Linked DNA regions of Homo sapiens: all the other regions are linked to region 3. The links are contacts of gene promoters, found by promoter capture Hi-C in human tissues and cell types (Jung and others, 2019). All regions are on one chromosome and are shown on one strand. The core of a region is centred on a gene start or on the middle of the fragment in contact, and the rest is flanking DNA. Distances in the headings are between cores, read along the strand shown. Region 1 has its middle 13 kb from the start of KCNN1. Region 2 holds the start of CPAMD8 (C3 and PZP like alpha-2-macroglobulin domain containing 8). Region 3 holds the start of TMEM221 (transmembrane protein 221). Region 4 has its middle 22 kb from the start of CCDC124.

What was found. Contacts are between HindIII fragments. The study calls those that stand out against the background at their distance.
Region 1: a contact is called between a fragment that was not itself captured here and the fragment with the promoter of TMEM221 in region 3, in 7 of the 25 tissues and cell types used here (aorta, bladder, dorsolateral prefrontal cortex and 4 more).
Region 2: a contact is called between the fragment with the promoter of CPAMD8 here and the fragment with the promoter of TMEM221 in region 3, in 1 of the 25 tissues and cell types used here (lymphoblastoid cells).
Region 4: a contact is called between a fragment that was not itself captured here and the fragment with the promoter of TMEM221 in region 3, in 3 of the 25 tissues and cell types used here (hippocampus, lymphoblastoid cells and spleen).

What each region holds. Positions count from the first base shown.
Region 1 is chr19:17,952,402-17,956,405 of GRCh38, reverse strand. It overlaps a transcript of KCNN1 not described here. Among named protein-coding and RNA genes, the nearest start is that of KCNN1, 13 kb to the left of the region's middle. RefSeq lists enhancers at 3,345-3,962, 3,963-4,004. The HindIII fragment of the contact is 4,437 bases long and covers 1-3,566 here.
Region 2 is chr19:17,024,924-17,028,998 of GRCh38, reverse strand. CPAMD8 (C3 and PZP like alpha-2-macroglobulin domain containing 8) reads left to right here and starts at 2,189. Exons shown (of 42, transcript NM_015692.5): 1 at 2,189-2,448. The coding sequence starts at 2,357. RefSeq lists an enhancer at 1,109-2,017. The HindIII fragment of the contact is 4,679 bases long and covers 1-4,075 here.
Region 3 is chr19:17,445,609-17,450,091 of GRCh38, reverse strand. It overlaps TMEM221 (transmembrane protein 221), which reads left to right and starts at 1,424. Exons shown (of 3, transcript NM_001190844.2): 1 at 1,424-1,949. The coding sequence starts at 1,630. RefSeq lists a silencer at 1,291-1,410. The HindIII fragment of the contact is 11,612 bases long and covers 1-4,483 here.
Region 4 is chr19:17,908,796-17,912,846 of GRCh38, reverse strand. No RefSeq gene overlaps it. Among named protein-coding and RNA genes, the nearest start is that of CCDC124, 22 kb to the left of the region's middle. The HindIII fragment of the contact is 5,842 bases long and covers 1-4,051 here.

The DNA.
Region 1 (4,004 bases), core at 99-2,598, 510 kb before region 3:
CTGGCCTTTGTCCTTATTGCATCCCAGCATCCAGCCTAGGGCCTGGCAGACAGTAGCTAGCTTGCTCAGTGTTTGTTGATTGACTAAATGACCACCACCTCTGTTTTCTCCACACCCCCATGGGCAGCTTAGTGCTGACCCTGGATGTCAGTCAGTGTTCACCAAGGAGGCCTGGCTCAGTGGCTCACGCCTGCAATCCCAGCACTTTGGGAGGCCAAGACAGGTGGATCACCTGAGGTCAGGAGTTCGAGACCAGCCCGGCCAACATGGGGAAACCCCATCTCTACTGAAAACACAAAAATTAGCTGTGCGTGGTGACGCATGCCTGTAATCCCAGCTACTTGGGAGGCTGAAGCAGGAGAATCGCTTGAACCCGGTGGGGTGGAGGGTGGAGGTTGCAGTGAGCCAAGATCATGCCACTGCGCTCCAGCCTGGGCGACAGAGTCAGACTCTGTCTCAAAACAAACAAACAAAACAAAACAAAACAAAACTAAAAAAAAAAAGTTCACTGGAGAAAGGAGCACAGGAGCTGCCTTCCACAGAGCTGGCCTACCCTGGGGGCTGTCTCCAGCGAGACCACGAGAGCCGGGAAGTAGAGGCTGTGTGTGGGGGGCGGGGGCGGGAGTGGTGGGACAGAGCTCTTCCAACCTGGCTCAACACCCCACTTCTAGGTCATCTGGCCTCTCTGAATAGTTTCCCCAACTCCAGTGATCAAAGAAAGTGGACAGTAACTCCCCGGAGGCTCTAGAAAGCATAGTCCTTGCTATCATCATCATGATATATATGATATAATAATAATTATATTATTATTTTTTTTCTTTCTTTCTTTTTTTTTTTTTTTTTGGAGATGGAGTTTCACTCTTGTTGCCCAGGCTGGAGTGCAATGGCACAATCTCGGCTCACTGCAACTTCCGCCTCCTGGGTTCAAGTGATTCTCCTGCCTTAGCCTCCCAAGTAGCTGGGATTACAGGCATGCAGCACCATGCCTGGCTAATTTTGTATTTTTAGTAGAGATGGGGGTTTCACCCTGTTGGCCAGGCTGGTCTCGAACTCCTGACCTCAGGTGATCTGCCTGCCTTGGCCTCCCAAAGTGCTGGGATTACAAGCGTAAGCCACCACGTCTGGCCTTTTTTCTTTTTTTTTTTTTTAATTAAAGAGATGGGGGTCTCGCTCTGTCGCCTAGGCTGGAGTGCAGTGGCCATTCACAAGCGTGATCATAGCTCACTGCAGCCTCGAACTCCTGGACTCGATACTCCCACCTTAGCCTTCCGAGTAGCTAGGACCACAGGTGCACGCCACTGTACCCAGCTTGTTATTATTTCAAAAGCTGGCACTTTTTCCTCAGGTCACCTTTTTTTTTTTTTTTTTGAAACAGAGCTTTGCTCTGTCGCCCAGGCTGGAGTGCAGTGGCGCGATCTTGGCTCACTGCAACCTCTGCCTCCCGGATTCAAGTGGTCCTCCTGCCTCAGCCTCCCAAGTAGCTAGGATTGCAGGTGCCCACCACCATCCCCGGGCAATTTTTGTATTTTTAGTAGACACGGGGTTTCGCCATGTCGGCCAAACTGGCCTCAAACTCCTGACCTCAAGTGATCCACCTGCCTCAGCCTCCCAAAGTGCTGGGATTACAGGCGTGAGCCACCTAGCCTGCCCAGTTACCAATTTTTCTATCCAACCCCTGAGCCACCCCCACCCCCAAAGGCGACCCAAGTCTGGGATTCACTCACCCTAGGGTGCAGGGGTCTCCTCGCCGAGCCACTGCAAAGGGGCTGTCCCCTTCAGTCCTGCTGGTGACCACTTGACTGGGAGAGAGGGTGGCTGCTGCTGCCTTTCCTGTCCCTTTGAGATCTGTAATGATCAGACAGGGGGTGCGGGGTGGAGGCGGGGACCCAAAAGAGTAGGGTGCAGACAGCTCCCGGACTACAGTGGTCTTTCTTATTTTTTATTTTTTTGAGACAGAGTCTTGCTCTGTCACCCAGGCTGGAGTGTAGTGATGTGATCTCAGCTCACTGCAACTGCCGCCTCCAGGGTTCAAACAATTCTCCTGCCTCAGCCTCCCAAGCATCTGGGATTACAGGTGCCTGCCACCATGCCCGGCTACTTTTTGTATTTTTAGTAGAGATGGGGTTTTGCTGTGTTGGCCAGGCTGGACTTGAACTCCTGGCCAGAGGTGATTCACCTGCTTCAGCCTATTACGTACAATGGTCTTTACAGCAGATCTGCGCTCTGGCTTGGTGTTGCTGAGCTGGGTCATCTCCTAAGCTTTCAGGAAGCTTAAGAACAGTGGCTTTATCACTCCAATGGGGCCCTGGGCTAGCCCCACCTCTTCCATGTCCCCTCCCTAAGGCCACTCCTCCTTTCACTGGGCTCCAGAAGCTAGACACTGAATGCTTTATCTGTCTTTCCCAATGCTGTTCCTGCTCACCCCCTCACATTGCCCCTAGTTCCTTCGCCATGGGGAGATCTAGGTGGGTGACATTCAGGGAGGTGACATTTTGTCACCCAGGCTGGAGTGCAGTCGCATGAACATGGCTCACTGCAGCCTTGACTTCCCGGGCTCAAGCGATCCTCCCACCTTCGGCCCCCAAGTAGCTTGGACTACAAGTGTGCACCACTACACCTGGCTAATTTTTTTAATTTTTTGTAGAGACAGGGTTTCAGTACGTTGCCCAGGCTGGTCTCGAACTCCTGAGCTTGCCTCGCCCTTCCAAAGTGTTGGGATTACAGTTGTGAACCACCTCGCTTGGCAGAGCAGCTGAACTCTTGCTCCCCAGCTCTGAAGCTGCCCTGGGAGCCTGTAGCTCCCTTGGCGTGCTCCCTCCATCTATTTAGTGCTGTCTGCAGAGGGCTTATAGAAGCACATGGTACCCAAGTCCGATCCTGGAGAAGAGGGCAGAAAAGGACACCCCATGGAGGGCAGGGGCAATGCCAGACCCCAGAACAGGACTGAAGGGGAAACCCCCAGCTGCCCTTTCTCTCACCAGGACCTGGGATCGGGGCAATGGTCACCTTGGATGGCTCAGGGGCCACCTGTTCCAGCCAGGGGGACTTGGTGCTGACCCTAGCCTTGGGAGGGCAGGGCCTTGTCCAAGGTCACTCAGCGGGTTGCTGCGTCGGAGTAAAAATTATCTCCTCCGTGGCTCCAGAAGCTTTGACTTCCCCATCTATAAGCCCCCTCCCCCCAGGGATTTCCTTTGATGAGGTCTTGGGCAGCCTGAGGAGGCTGGGAGCGGGGGCACACGGGGGACAAGAGGAGGTGAGATCTGGGAGCCCCGGAAGAGAGCGAGGCCGGGGCTTCTTGGCTCAGTCCTGTCTGGGTCTCTAGCCAGAGGAGAAACTTGGAGAAAGTAAGGAATCCCCCCAGTTCTGGGGCCCTGGCAACCCACGCTCAGGGTTAAACGGCGGCGGGGGCAGAGGATCCCAAAGCTGACCTCCCCAGCTGGGTCCCGGGATTCGTGGATCTGACCAGAAACCTGCTCTGCCCCAGCCCAGCTGGGTGACCTTGGGCGAGTGGTAACCCTCTCTGGGCCTCAGCCCCTCCTCCTGTCCGGGAGAGGGGAGGGGGGAAGGGAGGGAGCTTAGGGAAAAGAACAGGAACCCGGAGCCCAGCGCACAGTAGGCTGGCAGGTGGGGGGTTCCCTCCTACTGCGCAGCCTGGCCAGCACAGGGAATCCCCGCCACAACGCAAGGAGAAAGGGAGAAACCTGAGGGGACAGAGAGGGAGGAGGGGGCAACGGGAACCAGCGGTGCTTTCCCCCCACCACTGAGGAGGGTGCAGGCGTGGAGGATCCCCATGTCCCCACCTTCACCTCGCGGAGGGAGGGGGATGTCTGCGCTTCCCCAGACCTGGAAGCAGGAACCCCCTCCTCACAGGGCATGGGGGTGGGGTCAGGAGCTGACTCCCGGGATCGGTGTTGGAGGCGGGGGTTGAAGAAGGGATGTCCCCCTCCTCCCGCAGCTCCCCTTTGAATTCCCGGAGTCGGGCAAGCTTTGACCAATCCGCCCAC
Region 2 (4,075 bases), core at 940-3,439, 420 kb after region 3:
CATATTTGGCAAGAGTAGCTGAACGGTCGGTCAGGACATCGTGGTCCTGTGTGGCTCAACCATGCCAAGGCAGCACTGACATTTTAGACCTTACAAACCAGGCAGGCAGGGAAGGCACCTCCGGGCTAACCCTGAAGGTGGAGGAGAGCAGCCGGTCTTGTGATGCCACGGGGAAGTGCATCCCAGGCAGAGGGGACAGCTGGCACCTTGGCCCAAGATGGTGGTGGTGGGTGGGGGTCTGATGTATCTCAGGAGCAAATGTGGCCAGAGCCCAATGGTCAAGGGGGAGGCGGAGGGCTCAAAGGCTGGCCTGGAGGCTGAGGAGTGGAGGTTGGCTTAGGTAGGAGTCAGAGTTGGCCTGGAGGGGCCCGGAGGGGTGGCATGGGGCAAACTTCGATGATGAGGGTGAGATCAGATGCTGCTTCTTGGTGCTAGATTTTTGCACCTCCATGTGAGTTTAGCAGCCTGTTTGGGGTTGGCCTGGTCTGAGCTTGGAGGCAGGCAGCTCCTCCTCTTCTCCAGGCAGGAGAGACGGCTACTCAATCTACTCCGGCCCCTGCGCGCGTGCACGCACACACACACACCAACACACCATCATCAGTTACGTCCCCTCTGGGTTGTGTGCTCAGTGGCAGCAGGTCCTGTATGTCCCAGGGTCCTCATTGCCCAGCCCAGGGCTTGGTGCTGCCTGGGTGATCAGTGTTGGGTCCAAAGGCTGTTGACAGGGCTGAGAAGCCCCCAGAGGACCCACATCCCTAGGGGCAGGGAGGGGGCAAGAGAAGCTTCCCTTGAGTTTCCTGGAAGGATCAGGAGTTGGACTGGCAAAGGAGGCAGGTAGAGGAAGACAGAGATTAGGCAGAAGCAGGCAGTGGAGTAAGAACAGGGTGTTGGAGGAACTAGGCTGAGGTCTCTGCCATCAAAGCCAGAGTTTAGATTTGGTCTCAATAAACGGGAAGCCCTGGCTGGATGTGGTGGCTCACACCTGTAATCCCAGCACTTTGGGAGGCTGAGGAGGGAGGATCATTTGAGCCCAGTGCTCAAGACCAGCCTGGGCAACACAGTGCGACTCCGTTTCTAAAAAAAAATATATAAAAATTAGCTGGGTGCGGGCTTGCACCTGTAGTCCCAGCTACTCTCCAGGAGTCTGAAGCTGCAGTGAGCTGTGACTGCACCACTAAATTCCTGCCTGGGCAACAGAGCAAAACTCTGGTCTCAAAACATAAAAATAAAATGTAAAATAAACAGGGAGCCCCGAGGATTCCGGGCAGGAGGGGGTGTGGTCAGCACTGGAATTTTAGAAGAAGGGCAGTTGGTAGCTGGGGGAAGGGGGTTCCACACTGGAAGGAGGGGGTCCAGGACTTGGACATGGTATAGGATGTGCCGCCTGCCAGTGGGACCTAGGACAGCAGGACCATCACTGAGGTGGCCACACGGGGAGGGGCAGGAGGGGACACCCTGCTCTTGGAGAGAAAGGGGGTGCCCATCCACCCCTGCTGTATGAAGGGGAAAGGGGGACTCTGAGGCCCAGCGAGAGAGGGGACGGGCCCAAGGGATTTGTGGACAGTGGGGGTGGGGGAGAGGGGAGCAGAGAGCACAGATAGGGACCTGGGGCAGATGTGAGTCTGGGAGGTTCGACCCCTGGCTAGACTGTTTCCCCAAAGGGTCCTCTGCTCCTTGGGCTGTACGCACTGCACTGGGCACTAGATACAGGCCAGGGCTTAGGGCACGGCGGCGCCTGTGGGATCGGGGTTGCAGGCGGCGTCCAGACCCAGGGGCCCCTGGTGAGGGGCGGGCCCGGGGAGGGGGCCATAAGGGGCTGGCTGGGGAGGGAGGGAGGGAGAGGCCAGGGAAGGGACAGGTTCCGAGTGGACGCTGGGTGGAGAGGAGAGGGAGAGTGGGGGCGGTGGGGGGTCGGGTCCGAGGCGGGGCTGGTGGGGAGGGGGGCATCCGGGGGCGAATCCGGGTAGGGGGTGAGGAGGCGGGTTCGGAAGGAATCGGGCAGGGCCCGGGTGGGTCCGGTGAGTAAGTGAGGGGACGATCCCCGGAAGGGATCGGGGCGGGTCGGGGTCCGGAGATGGGCGGAGCAGGCGTCCCGGGAGGGTGCGCCCAGGAGCGGGGCGAGCGGGGCGAGCGGGGCGGTCCCGGAGACGAGGCGGGTCCGGGGAGGGGGCTGGCCCGGGGCTGCCCCAGCTTGGCCGGGCGCGGAGCGGGGCGCATGGCGCCGGGCGCACTGCGCGGGGGCTGCGAACAAAGGGCCCCCGGCGGCGGCGCGAGGACGGCCGCGCTCGGACCCTGGCCCTGGCCCAGCCCTGGCCCGGCCCCCTCCCCAGGCGCGGCGCCCCCCAGGAGCCGAAAAATGAGCGGCGCCCTGCTCTGGCCGTTGCTCCCGCTCCTGCTCCTGCTGCTGTCGGCGCGGGACGGCGTGCGCGCCGCGCAGCCTCAGGCCCCGTGAGTATCCTCCGGCGACAGAGGAGGTCGGTCGCCTTCTGGGGTGGGGGTCGCGGGTACTGGCTCAGAGTGTTGCAGCGACCTGCCCAAGGCCACACAGCCTCCGCGCTGGGCTGGACCTGGCCTCTTGTTCCCGAATCGTCTTGAGGAGGGGGCGCCCTAAAGTTTCCGAAGTGGCTCTGTGGAGGTACAGGGACTCCCAAAAGCTAAAGGTGCTGAGGTCAGCTCCCCCCGCCCCACCTCGCCCCCTTCGTGTGACCCGGGCTGTCATCATGGGTGGCGATTTCCAGTTGTCCAAGGTATGAAGGTAAGAGGAGCGTCTTGGCTGAGAAGTGGGAGGAGAGTGCGAAGGGGCACTTTCCCGTGGGTGGGCGTGGTGAGGGAGGAGGAAGTGTTTGTTTTGCTTCTACATTTTTCTAGAGGTTTGCTTGCAGGCTTCTGGTGGGTTGACAGCGGGGAGAAGGTGAATTAACTAACTGCTGGGGAGTACTGCTAAGTTGGCTTCACAGAGAATATTTCTAAACCTGGCAAGTTCGGGTGAGCTCTGCAGGGCTGCGGGTTCAGGGGGGCTGCCCTGGTCTGCACAAGACCAGCCTTTTAGTCCAGCTGGGCGTTTAGAAGGCGGCTTGTTCAAGCAGCCCTTGTTTAGGAGTTTCCAGAAAACTGGTAAGCAGTGAGACTAGGTGGGTGTCGTTATTTGCAGTGAGTAGTTGGTCCTTGCTGGTCACAGTTTTAAAAGCAAGACAGTCTACTGCGCTCTGAGCATCCAGACTTCCCTCTCCTAGGCTTCGTGAAATCGGAACCCTACAAATTTTCATCCTAATGCTTCTTTCAAAGCTGGCATCCCTTAGAATAGTGGTTCTCAGCCCTGGGGGGGATTTTTGTCTCCCTGAGGCCGCTGGGAAATGTCTGGAGGTATTTTTGGTTGTCACAAATAGGGAGAGGCATTTGGTGTTGGCATTAAGTGGGTGCAGGCCAGGAATGCTGGTAAACAGCTTTCGATGTGCAGGTCAGCTTCCACTGCAAGGAATGACGCGGCCCCACATGACAGACCTTGGCTCCAATGAGAGACCCTGCCTTATACAGAGGTTTTTGTTTGTTGTTTGTTGTTTTTGGGGTTTGTTTTTGTTTTTGTTTTGAGATGGAGTTTTACTCTTGTTGCCCAGGCTGGAGTGCAATGGCACGATCTTGGCTTACTGCAACCTCCGCCTCCCAGGTTCAAATGACTCTCCTGCCTCAGCCTCCTGAGTAGCTGGGATTACAGGCGTGTGCCACCACACCCGGCTAATTTTTTGTATTTTTAATAGAGATGGGGTTTCTCCATGTTAGCCAGGCTGTTCTGGAACTCCTGACCTCAGGTGATCCACCCACCTCCGCCTCCCAAAGTGCTGGGATTAGAGGCGTGAGTCACCGTGCCTGGCCCGTTAGAGAGTTTTAAACAGTTCTCCAGGGCGTTTTCCTCTGACTAAAGTCACCCTGTGATCTTACCATCTGTTAAGTGACATGGAATCCCTGTGCTGAGAGACACACTGGGGAAGAGATGTCCCCAAATGACCGACCTGGGATTCCAGATTAGCTGGCCTCTAAGCCAGGGGCATGGTTCACCCAGCCCAAAGGATCTCGTCTT
Region 3 (4,483 bases), core at 175-2,674:
ATGCCACTGAATAAAATGATTAATTTTATGTTATGTAAGTTTCATCTCGATTTTTTTAAAGTGCTGTGCGAATAATTTGGGGGACCAGTTGGGGAAGGGATCCAGGATTCTCCCTAGCCTCCTAGAGGAAGCAACGGTTACCCAAAGGCTTGAAGGAAGTAAGCAGAGGGGAAATCACAGCCAATGACAGAGTCCCTGGGTTGAGATCAAATGAAAAGTGAATTTTTAAATTTTGTTATTTCTTTTTTGAGACACAGCCTCGCTCTGTCACTCAGGCTGGAGTGCAGTGGCGTGATCTCAGTTCACTGCAGCCTCGACCTCCTGGGCTCAAGCGATCCTCCTGTCTCAGTCCCGAAAGTAGCTGGGTCCACAGGCGTGCACCACCACACCAGGCTGACTTCCTTATTTTTTGTAGAGATGGGGTCTGGCTATGTTGCCCAGGCTGGTCTCAAACTCCTGGGCTTAAGCCATCCTCCTGCCTCAGCCTCCCAAAGTGCTGGGATTACAGTTGTGAACCACCTCACCCAGCCCTTTCTCTCTCTCTCTCTTTTTTTTTTTTTTTTTTTTTGATGGAGTCTTACTCTGTCAGCCAGGCTGGAGTGTGCAGTGGTGCAATCTCGGCTCACTGCAACCTCCGCCTCCCTGATTCAAGCATTCCTCCAACCTCAGCCTCCCGAGTAGCTAGGATTACAGGCCATGCACCACTACGCCGGGCTAATTTTTTTTTTTTTTTTTTTTTTTAGTAGAGACGGGGGTTTCACCATGTTGGCCAGGCTGGTCTTGAACTCCTGACCTCAAGTGATCCGCCCACCTCGGACTCCTAAAGTGCTGAGATTACAAGCGAGAGCCACCGCGCCCGGCCTCCTTTCTCTTTATTTTTTATTTTTTAATTAATTAATTAATTAATTTTGAGACGGAGTCTCGCTCTGTCGCCCAGGCTGCAGTGCAATGGCGTAATCTCAGCTCACTGAAACCTCCGCCTCCTGGGTTCAAGCAATTCTCCTGCATCAGCCTCCCGAGTAGCTGGGATTACAGGCTCCGGCCACCACGCCCGGCTAATTTTTGTATTTTTAGTAGAGACGGGGTTTCACCATATTGGCCAGGCTGGTCTGGAACTCTTGACCTTGTGATCCGCCCGCCTCGGCCTCCCAAGGTGCTGGGATTACAGGCGAGAGCCACCGCCCCCGGCCTCCTTTTTCTTGTTTTAAACCACAATACAATCGATGCTTAGGGCGGCAGGGGGCGGGGTGGTGCCCTTTTCTGAACTTAGCGAGCTGTGGGGTTCCCGCGATCCAGTCCCTAGTGGGGCCTCCCCGCCCTGCGCCCGGTGCCAGGCCCCGCCCCGCCAGGCCCAGCGGACCAAGAGGGGGCGCCCGCGGGGCCCCGGGAGGGAGGAGAAAAGACTTTGTCCCAAGTTTTCGCGGAGATTCGGCGTCCCGGCTGCGACCAGCACCCCGGAGCCCCCGTCCGTCTGGCGACCCCCAGCCCAGTCCCCGAACTTTCAGACACTCCCTGCGGCCCCGCCCCCTCGGGGACCCCCTGAGGACCCTCGGATTCCCCCCAACTCCCCTGCCCTCTAAAACCACTTCAATTCCTCAACTCTTCCCCCGGCCCGCAGGAACCCCCGCCATGGCCCGTTCTTACGGCGGCCGGGTGCTGGCTGCAATGACCCTGCTGGGCATCGCGGCGGCCGTGCTGGCGGCGCTGGGCGCGCAGCTGCTGTTTCAGCTGCAGGCGGGCCGCGCCGAGCTGCGGGGGCTGCGCGCCGAGGGGCTGGGCCAGGAGCTGGGCGCCGGCCCCGGGCTGCCAGAGGACGCGGCCGGGACGCTGCTGCCGCTGGCCGCCGCGCTGGCCGCGCTGGTGCTCGTGCTGGGGTTCACCTGCTTGCTGCTCGCCGCGCTCTGTGGCCACCTGGGCGCCGAGCTGGCGCGGGGGCCTGGCCCCAGGAGGTAGGAGGACTGGCCTCACCGCCTCGGAGGCCCGGCTGGGGGCTGGGTGAGCCTGGTTGAGCCTCTTCCCCTCTTTTGGCCTCAGGCTGGGGGGACAGCTTCCCTCCCCACTTCCCTCTCCCCACCACTCCATGTCTCTCTGCCTCCCTCCTTTCCTCTCCTCCTCCCTCCTTCCCTCCCTCCATTCTATATTTGTTCAATTTTGCAGCAGGTGCAACCACTGCTGTGTCTCGCATTTTGCAGATGAGGAAACTGAGGCTCAAAGAGGGTCCAGGATCAGCTTGCCTGGATCTCAAACAGGGGAGGCTGAGCTCTCAGGCTGTCTGGCTTGGAAGTGGGTGGGAGGCGGGACAGTGCTGGACTTGAACTTGGTTCTGGGTAGAGCCAGCCAGAGCCTGTGTCCTGGTCTGAAATTGAGTTCCTTCCTCAGGGACCTGAACTCAGTCAGGGATGTGGTCATTGAGGGACCCCTATCAGGGGCAGTGGTTGTGGAAGGAGGAACCCTCCTTGAGCTGAGGACTCCGCTGTCCCACATGGTAGTGTTTCTCTCCAGAATGTCGGGGGAGAGGAGCCCAAATTCTAGTCCAGAATTCTGTGAAATTGAGCAGATGAGAACTCCCACCATTGAGGTAGATCCTATCCAGACCATGCACCTTCCACCCAAGGGACAATGAAATGCATGGGTCCCACGGGTCAGCAAACATCTGTTGGGTGCCTGCCTGCAGGGGAATGGATCTGGCTCAGGGCATCAGAGACAGCGGGGACCAAGTGGACCCAGACCTGCTCTCATGGGGTCACAGAAAATAAGGAAACATAACAAGGACAAGGCATGGTGGTTCACACCTGCAATCCCAGCCCTTTGGGAGGCAGAGGCAGGAGGATCATTTGAGGCCAGGAATTTTTTTTTCTTTTTTTTTTTTTGAGACAGAGTCTTGCTCTGTCACCCAGGCTGGAGTGCAGTGGCGCTATCTCGGTTCACTGCAGCCTCCACCTCTTGGGTTCAAGCGATTCTCCCACCTTAGCCTCCCGAGTAGCTGGGATTACAGGTGCCCACCACCATACCCAGCTAATTTTTGTATTTTTAGTAGAGGCGGGGTTTCACCATGTTGGCCAGGCTGGTCTTGAACTCCTGACCTCAAATGACCCACCCACCTTGGCCTCCCAAAGTGCTGGGAGGCCAGGAATTTGAGACCAGCCTGGGTAATATAGCAAGACCTTGCCTCTACAAAAAGAAAAAATAATAATTAGCTAGGTGTGGTGGTGCATGCCTGTAGTCCCATACACTTAAGAGGCTGAGGCAAGAGGATCCCTTGAGCCCAGGAGGTCAAGGCTGCAGTGAGCCATGATCATGCTTATGAATAACCACTGCACTCTAGTTTGGGCAACATAGTGAGACCTCATCTCTAATAATAATAATAATAGCAGATGGTAATGAGTGCTGAGAAGGAAAGGAAACAGAGAGATGGGATAGAGAGGAGATAGGACTTTGGGATTTCTTCTGCTAAGGAGGGTTGTGAGTAAGGAGGAAGGTGATCTGATTTAGGTTTTGAATGACCACCTCTAGCCACTGTGCTGAAAAGGGGACAGGAGGGAAGGCGACAGGAAGATGGGGAAGGCGTCCACTTTCATTATACTGGTGGGAGCTGAGTGAGGATGGAAGCTCTTATAGCCTCCACTTCCTCCTCAATCAGTCTCACCTCTTGGGGTCGCGGTTTGTATCATCAATAACAGCATGTGAAACTCAGTTTCCTCATCTCTCAAAGAAGCTTGTAGTCTGTAAAATAATGGAAGCCAGGTGTGTAGCAAGTATCTGCACATAGTAGCTGCATCCTGAGTGTTGAGTGTTTGAGTGGACTCATGCATATAGATGGGTTATAGGGGAAAGAGAATGGATGGTGGATGGATCGAAGTAAGGAAGGATGAATGGATGGATGGATAGATGGATGGATGGATGGATGAGGGGTGGATGGATAGTGAATGGAAGATGGATGACCAGTGGATGGGTGGGTGAGGGATGGATAGATAGGATAGCAGAGGGTGTTTAAATGAATGGATGGATGGATGAATAGCACATGGTTAAATGGATGGAAGGCTGTATATGAGTGCTGGTCAAATAATCAATGAATATGAATGGTAAATGGATGGTGGACACTGACTTGGAAAAATGGATGTGTGGATGGATGGAGCATAGATAAATGGATAGATATCAGATAGTGGATGGTGGATATCTAAATGATTGTATGGATGGATGAATGGGTGGGGCCGATGGATGGATAAGTGGATGGATGAATGAATTGATAAGTGGATGGATGAATGAATGAGTGGATGGATGACTGGTTTGATGGATGGATAAGTGAATGGATGGATGGATAAGTGGATGGATGGATGAGTGGAAGTATGGATGGATGGATGGGTGGATGGATAAGTGGACAGATGGATGAATGGGTGGATGAATGGATGAATGGATAAATGGATGGATGGATGGATGGGTAAGTGGGTGGATGGATGAATGGGCATATGGATGGATGGGTGGA
Region 4 (4,051 bases), core at 892-3,391, 460 kb before region 3:
CAAAATTAGCTGGGGGTAGTGGTGCATGCCTGTAATCCCAGTTACTCGAGAGGCTGAGGCAGGAGAATCGCTTGAACCCAGGGGGTGGAGGTTGCAGTGAGCCAAGATCACACCACTGTATTCTAGCCCGTGTGACAGAGCAAGACTCCACCTCAAAAAAAAAAAAAAAAAAAAGAAAGAAAGAAAGAAAAAAAGAAACAGCCGTCGTTACCTAACCCCAGGACCAAACAAGAAACGTCAGTGTTTCTGGAGTCTCCAACAGGACTCAGTCCCAACACCTCTGCTCCCCATGAATTCAGAGAATAGCACTGGGGCTGGAAGGGCCTTCAGTAGGTCCAAGGCCAGCATGCACAAGACCCACTGCCCAGAGAAGAGGGAGATTTGGGTCCTCCAGTGGTCCCCAAGCCAGTTTCTTTGACAGATTGAGGAGGTCCAAGCAAGCTGGTAGCCTCTGTGTCCCCCAGCCTCAGGCCTCAGTGTCTGGCACTCCAGCTTCACAGGCGTTTGCAGTGGGGCATCCTCAGGGAATAAAAAGTTTTGTGAAGACCTGGAGATCTTTTTTCAAAAGCACAATTACAGGTTTTCACACAGACTAGTCTTCATTCATACCTAAAACTCTCATTTCTGGTAGAAAATATGCACCAGTGAAAAACAGGGCATGGGGCTGGGTGTGGTGGCTCATGCCTATAATCCCAGCACTTTGGGAGGCTGAAGCAGGAGGATTGCTTCAGCCCAGGAGTTCAAGACCAGCCTGGGCAACTTAGTGAGTTGCTGTCTCTACAAAAGATAAAAAATTAGCTGGGCATGGTGGTGTGTGCCTATAGTCCCAGCTACTCGGGAGGCTGAGGTGGGAGGATTGATTGAGCCTGAGAGTTTGAGGCTGCAGTGAATCAACATCTCCCCACTGCACTCCACCCTGGGCAACACAGCAAGATTCTTTTTCTAAAGAAAAGTTTAAAAATAAAAATAAATAGTCTGGGCAGGGTGGCTCATGCCTGTAATCCCAGCACTTTGGGAGGTGGAAGTGGGCAGATCACTTGAGGCCAGGAGTTTGAGACCAGGGTGGCCAACATAACAAAACCTCATCTCTACTAAAAATACAAACATTAGCCAGGCCTGTGGCGCACACCTGTAGTCCCAGCTACTCGGTAGGCTGAGGCAGGAGAATCGCTTGAACCCAGGAGGCGGAGGCTGCAGTGAGCTGAGATCGCACCACTGCGCTCCAGCCTGACAACAGAACGAGACTCCGTCTCAAAATAATAATAAATAAATAAATAAATAAATATTTGGTCTTTTGACCCCAGTTCCTGACAGAGTGATGGGAGTGTCTGACATAGAGCTCCTAAATCCCCTAGAGTTTCCTGGGTGATAGGAGCGTCTTTGGTTCTAAAAAGATGACTCTTGGTGGGTTCCTGGGTGGGGACCAACAAGACCAAGCCATCATTAGAAGCTTGGAGCTTTCAGCCCCACCCTCTTTCTCTGGAGACCGGAGAGGGGCTAGGGACTGAGTTAATAATCAATCATGCCTTCATAATGAAGCCCCCATAAAAATCCCCAAAAGATGGGGTTTGAAGAGCTTCCGAGTTGATGAACACATCTGCAGGTTGCAAGGGTGGGGTATCCCACTCTATAGAGACCATTGTGTCTCAAGGCGGGCTGTTTTGTGGGATTGAGCCCTTAACCTGCGGGATCTGATGCTGTGTCCGAGTAGATAGCATCGGAACCAAATTGCATCAGAGGAATCCCAGCTGGTGTCCACTGGAGAATTGCTTACTATGTGGAAAAAATAAAGACAACCCACACATCTGGTGTCAGAAGTGTGGTGTTGAGTGGGATGTGTGTTTTGTTTGTTCCTCTTACATTGTGTTTTGAAATAAAACCAATACTCAGCCGCAAAGCAACCGCATTGGTCACCCTTCTGCAACGATTGTGTTAATGTTTTTCTTGATTTCGTCAAACATGAGAGCCGCAGGGGTCTGCAGATTTTCATAACAAGGCCTCCAGGACAAATTGGCTCTTGAAATTATTTTGTGATTAAAAAGAAAAAAGAAAAGCCAAATTTAAAAAAATAAATTAAAAGAAGATTTAATAAGATTTATATGTATTCAAAAGAAGATTTAGTAAGATTTGTATGTATTCACCAGGAAACATGTTTTATGATTTGTTTTGGAAGGGCAAAAGCAATTTCCACAGTAATGTGAATTTTGTAATCTAATATTCTTTTTTTTTCTTTTTTTAGATTTTTGAGGCAGGGTCTCACTCCCATCACCCAGGCTGAAGTGCAGTAGCATGATCACAACTCACTGCAGCCTCAACTTCCCAGGCTCGGGCGATCCTCCCACCTCAGCCTCCTGTGTAGCTGGGACCACAGGCATGCATCACCATACCAGGCTAATATTTGTATTTTTTGTAGAGATGCAGTTTCACCATGTTGCCCAGGCTGGTCTCAAACTCCTGGGCTCAGATGATCGCCCCACCTCCCAAAGTGGTGGGATTACAGGCGTGAGGCACTGCACCTGGCTCATTTTTCTAAGAAAAAAAAAAATCTTTCTGTCTAGATTTTTTTTTTTCATGTTTGAGGGCTCTGCATTGCTGGGGCAACTGTGGATTTGACCAGCTCCTTGAACAATCCATTGCCAGGTCAGGACTTGGAGAAAGCAACGTGGATGACCCAGAGAGGGGCAGCGACTGGCTGCAGGCCACACAGCAATTTCATCAAGATTCCATCCTTAGGCCAGGAGTGGTGGCTCACGCCTATAATCCCAGCATTTTGGAAGGCCTAGGTGGGCAGATCACTTGAGGTCAGGAGTTCAAGACCAGACTGGCCAACATGGCGAAACCTTGTCTCTACTAAAAATATGAAAATTAGCTGGGTGTGGTGGCGGGTGCCTGTAATCCCAGCTACTCGGGAGGCTGAGGCAGGAGAATCGCTTGAACCCGGGAGACGGAGGTTGCAGTGAGCCAAGAATATGCTACTGCACTCCAGCCTGGGTGACAGAGCAAGAGTCTGTCTCAAAAAAAAAAAAAAAAAAAGATTCCATCTTGGTGGGGTAGGTGGCATGAGGTGAGCTACCTCCTGAGAGCCACCAGTTTTGGGATGATCCTCAATCCCAGCCCGTCTCAGACCTGGCTCTGGGGAGAATAGGATGTAGGGGAGACCTTCCATCCTTGCCGTGCTGTGCCCCAGGTGGGCCTGGAGCCAGCTGCACCTGAAGCTGACACAGCCCTGGGCCTCGGTAGGAGGCAAGTGGAGTCATTCCAGTGGAAACTTACCTGCTTCCTGCCTGGTCTTGTCTTCTGCTCCACCTGGCTTCTTGACAACTCTCCCGCTGTACCAGAAAGAATAGGAATTCAGGGCCTCAGTATTGGCTTAAGCTACAGATACCAAGATCAGCAGGGGAGACAGAGACAAGCCTGTGGACCTGAAGGGGAGGGGCCCCACCTCCCAGCCATTTAGGAGAACATTCAACAGGGCTGCAAGACAGGGCTCAGAGGACGAGGAGGAACAGGAGGCAAGGGCACTGCCTGGGGTGCTGGGGTAGGCAGCAGGGTTGCCCAGAGGAAGAGGAGATTCTGGGAGGAGGCCTCTGGAGCTGCTTGGTTGAAGTCACCCAGTTGACCTTATGCAGAAGTTCCAGGATTCCTATGGGAATCGGCTCAGCTGCAGGGTACTGAGCTGCCAGGAAGAGGTCAGGGCTCTTGGTGCATGCAAAAATGCTGAATAAAACATTAGCAAATTGAGTTCAGCTGTGCTTTAAAAGACACTATACTAGGAGTATGCGGGGTCTTATTCCAAAGAGACAAGGAAAGTTCAGCTTTAGAAAGCTTCATTTATTCAATGAAAAGATAAAAGGAGAAAAATTCCACGTGATTATTTCACCATGGAAAAACTTTAGATAACATTCAGAAACCACTTTCCTTTTTTTTTTTTAAGTTCTTAGAATTTTTCTTAAAAGTTCTGATCACCATTGATGGTGATTAGAAAGGAATCACCTGCATCCTGTTAGATGGTAAAACAGAGCCGGGTGCAGTGGTTCATACATGTAATCCC